2 separate regions of the Homo sapiens genome follow, and region 1 is linked to region 2. The links are contacts of gene promoters, found by promoter capture Hi-C in blood cells and fetal thymus (Javierre and others, 2016). All regions are on one chromosome and are shown on one strand. Each heading gives the region's core, a stretch centred on a gene start or on the middle of the fragment in contact. The rest is flanking DNA. Distances are from core to core; before and after follow the strand shown.

Evidence for each region. Contacts are between HindIII fragments. The CHiCAGO score rates a contact against its expected background, and 5 or more counts as called.
Region 1: the fragment with the promoter of TEX26-AS2 here is called in contact with the fragment with the promoter of TEX26-AS1 in region 2 in 17 of 17 cell types (total CD4 T cells, activated CD4 T cells, neutrophils and 14 more); the score reaches 35.3 in total CD4 T cells.

What each region holds. Positions count from the first base shown.
Region 1 is chr13:30,976,270-30,980,519 of GRCh38, forward strand. It overlaps TEX26-AS2 (TEX26 antisense RNA 2), which reads right to left and starts at 1,371. Exons shown (of 3, transcript XR_941820.3): 1 at 1,291-1,371. The HindIII fragment of the contact is 6,328 bases long and covers 1-1,822 here.
Region 2 is chr13:30,929,918-30,934,321 of GRCh38, forward strand. It overlaps TEX26-AS1 (TEX26 antisense RNA 1), which reads right to left and starts at 2,691. Exons shown (of 4, transcript NR_038287.1): 1 at 1,329-2,691; 2 at 884-957. It overlaps TEX26 (testis expressed 26), which reads left to right and starts at 2,739. Exons shown (of 7, transcript NM_152325.3): 1 at 2,739-2,859. The coding sequence starts at 2,799. The HindIII fragment of the contact is 4,425 bases long and covers 1,911-4,404 here.

The DNA.
Region 1 (4,250 bases), core at 121-2,620, 45 kb after region 2:
CACCAGCAGCAAGAGTTTGTTGTTGTTATTGCCGCTTTGGCTTTCTTTCTTTCTTTCTTTCTTTTTTGAGCCCTTGTTTGGGCCTGTCCTATTTCCTGCTCCTGTTTTGCATCAAGGCAGTCATATCCCAACCATCCCTGCTTTAGACAGGGGTAGTTTTCTATTTATCAGCTAAGCGTCTCCCTGCCCCAACGTCCTTTGCAGATGTGGGTCAATACTTGAGCATTAATCTGCTTTTATGCCTTTCTTAGAGTGCTTAAGACTGTTGCAGTGGCCACCCAGGAGCTTTACGTGGACTCTCTCTTGGTTTAGTGTGTGCAGTGTGGGACTTCCTGACTGTCCTCACAGCATCCATTCCAAAGCAGAGGTCCATACTCCATCAGGGCCTTGAGCCAAATATTAATAAATGAGTAGCCCCTTTGGTCCACAAATATTTATTGAGCACCTCCTACGTGCCAAGCAGGGCTTTAGGGGATGGGGATAATGCACTAGTGAAAGACAGTAATGGAGCTTCGATTCTAGAGGGAGGCACCAAGAGGCTCCTATTTGAAATGAAACTTCAAGAGGAGAAGGAGCCAGCCACATGGAGAGATGGGACAAGACCTTTCCAGGCTTAGAGAACAGCAAGGCAAGGGCCTCAAGATAGGAATGATTTTGGTGTTCTAGGAACTGGAAGAAGGTGGAGTGGTTGACACATACATAGTGAGTTGGCCGGGGACAGGGAAAAGTCACGCAAAAAGAGATCAAGGAAGCAAGAGTCGGATCATGGTGTGAGTGCCATTGTATTTCTGTTAGCATAGACTCTTGTATTCTATGTAACTTTATTTCACAACAGTCAATAAATTTCTATTGATTCAAGTTGTGGATCACCCATGAATGTTGTTTTTATACTATTCGTCTTCTTCTTCTTCAAATTTTGGTAGCAAAGTTTTGTGTAGGACTTGAGTTTTTCACGACTGCAGACGTGTCTGTGCATGCATCTTAAGTTTTTAATGTATCTCTACACCTTGGGCATCCCAAATGGTATCCCTGACCTCCCAAATGATTTTTTAAAAATTCACATACATTGAGGTTCACTCTTTGTGCTATAAAGTTCTATGGGTTATGACAAAAGCATAGTGCCATGTATCCACAATTACAGTATCACACAGGATAGTTTCACTGCCCCAAAAATTCTCTATGCACCACCTGTTCAATGCTCTCCTCCTCCCCTCAAACCCTGATTACTTCTTTGGAGATCATTTTGGTATTCTGGAGGTAGGGTAGCTAAGAAAAGCCAGCATCACCTACCTTGCCCTGGGGCAGACAACATACGGATGAGTATTGCCATCTGTCTGGACACAAAAAGTCCTCTTACCTACAGGGTTCTAGAACTTGTCAGTGACATCACTCTAGAGCAAGATGTTCTACTTGTAAATACAGTATTGAGATGTCATCTTCGACAGACTTTTGCTTTAGGGACGGTGGTAAAGTGAATTATTGGCCCCAATTCTTCATCTCTCTCTGTATCCACACCCCTGGCCATGTAACCTTGCAGTGCCTCCCACTAAAGATGGAATGTATTTCCCCTGACCTTGTATGTGAGCACAGCCATGTGGCTTTCTTTGGCTAATGGGTTGTTAGAAGAAATAAACCTGGGCTGCTCACTGGTCCCAGGAGAAAAATGAGTCACCCCAGCTGACCTGCCCCAATGACTCACAAACTGTGAATGAGAAATAAATGCTCTTTGCTGCATGCCAGAGGCCAATGTAGCAATAGCTGACTGGTACAGGCACAGCATTTATTTAGATGCAACATTCCTGGGACCCTCAAAATGAGAAAAAGCTTTGTAGAATCAGTTCTTTCTCAAAAATATTAAATTCTACCACCGTCAACAAATGTGTGTTTAAAAAGCAATTGCACCCGGGAAGCGGAGCTTGCAGTGAGCCGAGATTGCGCCACTGCAGTCCGCAGTCCGGCCTGGGCGACAGAGCGAGACTCCGTCTCAAAAAAAAAAAAAAAAAAAAAAAAAAAGCAATTGCATTTTAAAGTAAGAGTGTGGTTGAGGTTCTCTTGTATCTTAAAAATGGCAAGGGTGTTTTAAACATTGAACACTTTAAAGATTCTCATGAGGCCAGTAGCCACTGCTTATTTTAATGTGCTAGAAGCTGTGAGTGCTTTAACCTGGTTCATTCTCAGAGAAGATCGGCAAACCCAGATCAGTCATGGACCTGGCATGAGTTAATTACATGGCACTAGAATCTCTATTATTATATTTGTAAGATAGTAGTTTTTCAACAGTTACTAATCCTGCCATTTTTTTTTTCTTGTGATATCCCCCGATGGCTCTTTAATTCTCTTTTTTCTTTCCTGAAAAACTTACCCTTGGTAGGCGATTTCTGGGGTGTTGATTTTTTTCTTGCCGGGAACCCCTGTGGCCACAGCACCTTTGCCCAAATTCTTGTCCTGCATCCAGGAAGAGTGAGGTACACAAGTGAAGAGTGAAGAAGAGTTTTATTTAGTGTTAGAGCAACTCAGAGGAGTGGGTAGCTCCCTTCTGCTGGCAGGTCATCTCTGAGGCTCTCAGTGGACAGGGTACTCTTCTCTGCAGCTGGTCATCCAGTCCCATCATCTCTCTGCTCTCTTTGTCTTCTGGCCATCTTCTGCCCTGCTCTGGTTGAGCCCAGGGCTTTTATGGACCTCAGAAGGAAGGAAATGTATGCCAGTTGGTCCATGGGCGGCCATGGGTGGGCCTGGACTCTTCCAGGCCCATGAGTCCCTACTCCAGTTCACGGGACTGGCAGCCCAGCCCCTAGTCTTCAGGCTCTCCCTGGCCTGAGGGTGGGCCCTTACTGGGGACCCTCTTCCTTCTACCCAGGATTCTGTCAGCCTCCCGCTGGGACTTGGCCCCCAACCCCGCTGGGAGATTGGAGCGGGCCTTGGGAGGAGAGGCCAGGCACTGGGAGCAGACACCCCTAAGCCTGCAGGGACAGGGGTCCTTCCTGGGGCACTCGAGGGTGTAGGCTACAGAGATGCCCAGGTCCTGTGCCTGGGAGGGCAGTGCAGCTGCACCCAGGAGCTCCCGCCCCACCAACTCAGAAGAGGCAGGACTCCCACTTGTCCCCAGCTTCTGCCTGCTTCCTGGAGCAGGAGGCCCAGGTCTGCAGCCGCGAATGAGGCAGCTGCAACTGCACCTCGGAAGGCAGATCCTGCCTGTTCCCGTTTCTCCCAAGAGCACAGGAAGGCTCCGATCCACAGCTGCATTTTGGGCTGCTGTAGCCTCACCCAGTAGGGGGCGCTCCTTCCTGCTCCCTAGAGCAGGAGGCCTGGGTCTGCAGCTGTGGTTTGGGTGGCTGTAGCCACATGGGGAGGTCCTGTCCCAACTCAGAATGGGCAGGGTTCCCCCTGGCTCCAGGGAGTGTACAGCCCCAGCTGCGCTTCCCTGCTGCAGCTGGCATGATGGCAGCAGCCACTGCCATCACCCTTGCACACACCTTATTCAAAATAAAAGTGTATATAGTGGATTTCTATGCTTTCTAGAAATATCTGTTCTTTGTTTTGAACCTCTTGAAGAAACAGTTATGTAAATGTGTTTAAAATTGTTCCACTTTGTTTTAAAAAGCTTTTGTGAATAAGTAGAAAACAACATCCCTTTAGAATGAAGGCTGCAATAATTTGTAAGAAAGTAAGAAATAAAACGCAGGTTATAGGAAGTTGTTTTCACTACGTGTTAGAATTCTCCTTTCTGTACAGGAGGTATATGAGTCTGGAGCAGGGCTTATCAGCCTTGGCTACCCAATCAAATGTCCTGGAGAGATTTTTAAAATCCTGATCCCGAGGCTACTTTCCAGTCCAATTACATCAGAACTTCTGGGGACGGATCACAGGTGCTAAGGTGATCCCTGTGCACAGCAAAGAGTGAGAACCACTAAACTAGAGGGGGGATCTAATTGGTAAATTGCACCTGAGAAGGTTAAGTTGGTAGTTTAGTCAAGGTCTAAGCAGGAAGCAGAATCCACCCCATTTGTTTCAGATGATGGGGCTTAAGTAAAGGGACTACTTACTGAGGACATAAACGTGGGGTAAGGCTCCCAGAGACTTGAGAGAGAAGAAAGCTGTTACCACCTCTCCCTGTGAGAGCCTGGGCTGTCAGGGAGCTGCTGTCCCCTGGAAGGGACAGAGCCATTTTGGGGGACATGACACAGGGAACAAGAAGGGAAAAATTCCTCCAGCCTTGCTTCTCCTTCCCTCTCATATAATCTGATCTCCTG
Region 2 (4,404 bases), core at 1,441-3,940:
AACAACCAATTAACATTTAACCCATTCAATACAACTATTCTCAATTGTTTTGGATCAATTTGAAACTCTGCTAAAGAGATATCAGTAACCTAAATTAGTAACCTAGATGCTTTAATTTCTGAATGATTAACTTACTCTGGCAGAATGTTGTGGAATTTTGCCTCTCCTCCTTCTGGAATGAGAGGCCAGGATTTACTTAAACTTCCAACCTGGCCCCTGCACTGCATTGTTTAACCCAAGCATGCTCAGGTGAAGTCCAAGCTTCTCAGGATGGCCTGCAGGGCCTTCCACCCCAGCCGGCTCTCAGTTTCCCCTGACACACTTTACAATATGGCAATATTAAACTACTAAAGGTCTTGGGACTACACACAGTGTTCCATGCCTCTGGGCCCTTGCGTTACTTTGTGTCACCTGTCACCTCCCCCTATTCACCTGGTTGACTCCAAGCATCCTTGAGGACCCAGCTCAGGCACCTCCTTTTCTAGGAAGTTGTTCACTATAATAATCAGGGTGTTGCCCCGATGCCATCATACAGCTCATATTCAGTGCACAGTCAGTATTTGTTGAGGGAGAGAAGAAAGCAGGGGGGAAATACTCTACTTAATCATTTAGAAGGGTTGCCTCAGGCAACCAGAATTCAAAGGCAGGAATAGTGCTATACCGCTAGCCATAAAATGGACCCACGCAAAAATACACTTTGAAGTAGAAAGACTATAAAAGGAATGAAGATCAGAATAGCAACAAGAGCAATATCTTAGATTTGTGTGATTTTACAATTTATAAATTATTGTTAGAACTCATCATGTTTACAGCACAGTGAGGTGGGTGCTGGTATTCTCATTTACAGATAAGGAGACCAGGGATCAGGGAAGGATTTGCTTACCCCTAAGGGCCTGCAGTGACAGAAAGATCCTTTGGCTCTCTATTTGGTTCCTACCGCACCATTTCACAGCTTGCCTAAAATGAGACAAATTGTAAGATATTAATAAGAATTCACTTTCAAAATTCTATATACTTGCTGCTCTATTTTAAACATATATTTCTCTTAAATTATGCTATGCTAATTAGCTCTACCATTTCCAGACAGTAATCTGTTATTGGGTGCTACTTTTTAAATTTAGATGCCACTACTAAATCCTAATTTAGACTCATTCCTTTTAATAACATCTATGCCTTCTAATGTGTTCCACCCTCCATTGCTTCAAAACATGAGAGTTTATAATGTGTTATATTCATTCCATTATATGGATAGAACTCTACCTTCAGGAAATTCTAGTTTAGCTCTTCATTTTAAAGACATTCCTTGCACATATATTTGGGATCCTTACCTTGATGCTTTTTCTGTCTCCTTTGATAAATTCCTCCTTTGTCACACTGCACTGTTTCTCTGAGGTCTTGTATTAGAATAGCCCCTTAAGAATAAGGAACTGTTGTAAATTGCTTTGTAAACAGGTTGCCAGCCAACTCCAAAATGTATTTCCTGTCTTCTCTTTTCACCCAAGTGGGTAATAACTGTGTTGTAACCTGGAGACAGTCAGTAGTTACTAACCACCTAGTATGTCAAATTACCAGGTAAGGTTATCCAGCAAAAGGGGCTCACTGCACTAGAAGCCAACACTATGACACCAAGTTTTTGAGAAAAGGAAAGCTTCACATTGCAAGTTAACTTCTGAGGAAACAAAAGTCCAGTTCAAATCTGTCTTGTACTGGCTTTAGGGCAGTAATTTTATTACAAAAGGTTTAGGGTTGGATCCTGGGGTTAGCAGGTGATTGGTGGAAGCAAAGGGAACATCTGGGAAGTCTTCAGGCATGCATGGCTCTCTCTTCATGCTTCCTGGTGGGTCCCATGTGCAAATTTGGAGGGAGTTGGTATGAAACATGCAGTAGAAATTCAGGCTGTGACATCAGCAAGCTTGCTGTGCGCAAACTGCATTTGGCCATATTGATTCCGGCTGATTTCAGTCAGTTTTGTTATAAGCAGAGGGAGTTTCAGCAAATTGTTTCTTTTCTTATCTGCCCCTGAAAACAAGAATTTCTGTTAGTTATTGGTGTCTTTGACTCTTTGAAACAGTTTCAGTAGTTCCCAAGATATGAAGATAAAAGACCCCCTTCATCAGTGAAAACTCTTACAAGGGGATGAAAGACACAGCTTCCTCTATGAGAGCACAAGAACAATTAAATTGACCCTCACAAACACTATGGTTGGTGCCAGGAACGTGGCCTGGTGAGGAGGACAGTGTCACATCCTCCCTGCCCACTCCTGTTTCCACGCGTGCATTTCCTCTTCTGCCCCTCTCCTAAGCCAGGATGACCCTTCTGACCGCGTGGAACTATCACAGAAACTGCTTCCATTTATACCAGATGACTTGGGATTCAGTCTTCTTGCTTGGTTTTTATTGACTGCAAAAATCCATGACAACTTTGCGCACATTTGCTTAAGCTGAAAGCAAATGGATGAAAGTTTGTAGTTGAAAATCTACTTTCTCTTCAATCTCTTCCCTTTTTGCTTTTCTTAGGAAACATACAAGACAGTGGTCCGGAAAGCTCACTGCAAGAACTGTACAAATAATGTAAAAGTAAGGCATCCATAAGATCAAAGCCACATTTCTTTGCTCTCTGCACCCCATTCCCGCGCCGGCCAGGTTAAGCCTCCTGCGTGGCCAGCACCCCTTGGCAGGGGCAGAACTCCCTGGAACCCGATCCTTGTCTCCATGGCGACGCGTCACAAAGCAGCCCGCGGCTCCCGCAAGCGCTGAGATAGCTGGAGCCAGGGCCCCGCGGCCGCCTCCTGGGGCAGAATGGAACAGCCTGGGCCCAGGGCTCCGGATCCCTCTCTCTGCCACCACAACCTCCAGCCAAGTAAGACAGCAGACTCTGCCGGTCTGCGGGGCGGGGCTGGGGTCTTTCCCGGGGAAAGGGTCCTGTTGAGAAAAAGGGGCCTTAGTATTTAAGGGTGTGGCATCGCTCTTAGGAGTATGCTCAACTGAGGAAAAGACGGGGAGTCAGGGAGAATGACAGGGCCTTCATGACGCTGCCCCTTTTCAGTCCTTCGCATAACCTTTGCCAAATCCCCGCTCCCTAAAACGCGCAGGGTTTTTAAACACTCGAGGAAGTGCCTGGCTAAGAGGGGACAGGAAAAAAGGAAGAACTGGTGATTTTCCAAGGAAAACAGGGCCAAAGGCAAAGAAGAAAGAGAAGTCCTGGAAGCTCTGAAGAGAACAGGTCCTGCCTGAGTCCCGATCCCCATATAGGATCTTGGAAACAGCAAGGAAAGTGGGGGAAGGGTTGGCTGCTGAATGGAGTCCCAGCTGTGTCTGCAGAGGCAGACGCCCTCCCTGGGCTGTCGCACCAGGCTGGGAGCCATGGCCTTCAGCTGCCGCCTCTAACCTGAATTGATTTTTCTTCCACAGAGATTTTGTATTTCACAGAGGTAGTGCTTTTCATCCTAATTCTGCCCACAGATGCAGCAGGTTCACCAGTTCAGCCTTTTGGGTCTGTGGAGGGAGAACCACTCTAGCTGTGACGCTAGTGGCATGATTACCGTGTAGTCAGCTCCATCATAGTCTCTTGTGGCAATAATTGGCCATTGCTGCTGTATAGTTGGGTAACTGTGATTCCACAGTGGCTATGGAGCAGTGAAGGATTGTTCAAGTACAAATTCCCTAGAATTGTGCTCCCAAAAGAGTGAATGAAATGCATATTTTCATTCCAATTCATTCCGTTGTAAATTAAGAATGGAAAATGAAAATACTTAATTAGTGCAGAAAATATCTAATACACTCAGTTTCTATATGATGGGAAGGCAAACAGGAGAGACAGAGGAGGGAGGATCCCCTCCTAGCATCCCGACAGCACCCCTTTGGATGCTTCTCTTCCCTTTCTAACCACCCTGTTTTCCCACTGTCTCCCCATTTCATCCCCTTCTTGTCTGGGAACTGTTGGAGTCCCCCAGGATTGATCCTTCTAGGCTTACCTTCTCTTTGTGACCATATCCTGCACAGGGCTTCAAGTGCTGCATAAAGGTGCCAACAACTCTCTAACCTTTATCTCTGACTTGGACTTTCTTCCTACTTTTTCAGACCAGAATATCTAACTGTCTACCAGACAGTTCCATGTGGGTGTCACAGCAGGGCCTCCAACTTGACATGTGCAAAATCACACTCCTTGTCCTCCTCAAACCTTCCAGACTTTGAGAGTTCAGTTAAGAGGGTCCTAGCTGCTCAATTTAGAAGGGAAGGCAGCTTCCTTGAGACTGCAGTTTGATCACCAGGTCTCTTTGATTCTGCCTCCAAAGCTCTTTTTCCCCCAGGTGAATTCGCCCCTTTACCTCCAGGCTTGGGCCTCTAATGGCTACTCTGTGCCACTTCATTCCCCACTGCTGGGAGAGTCACCCTCCAAATGGTA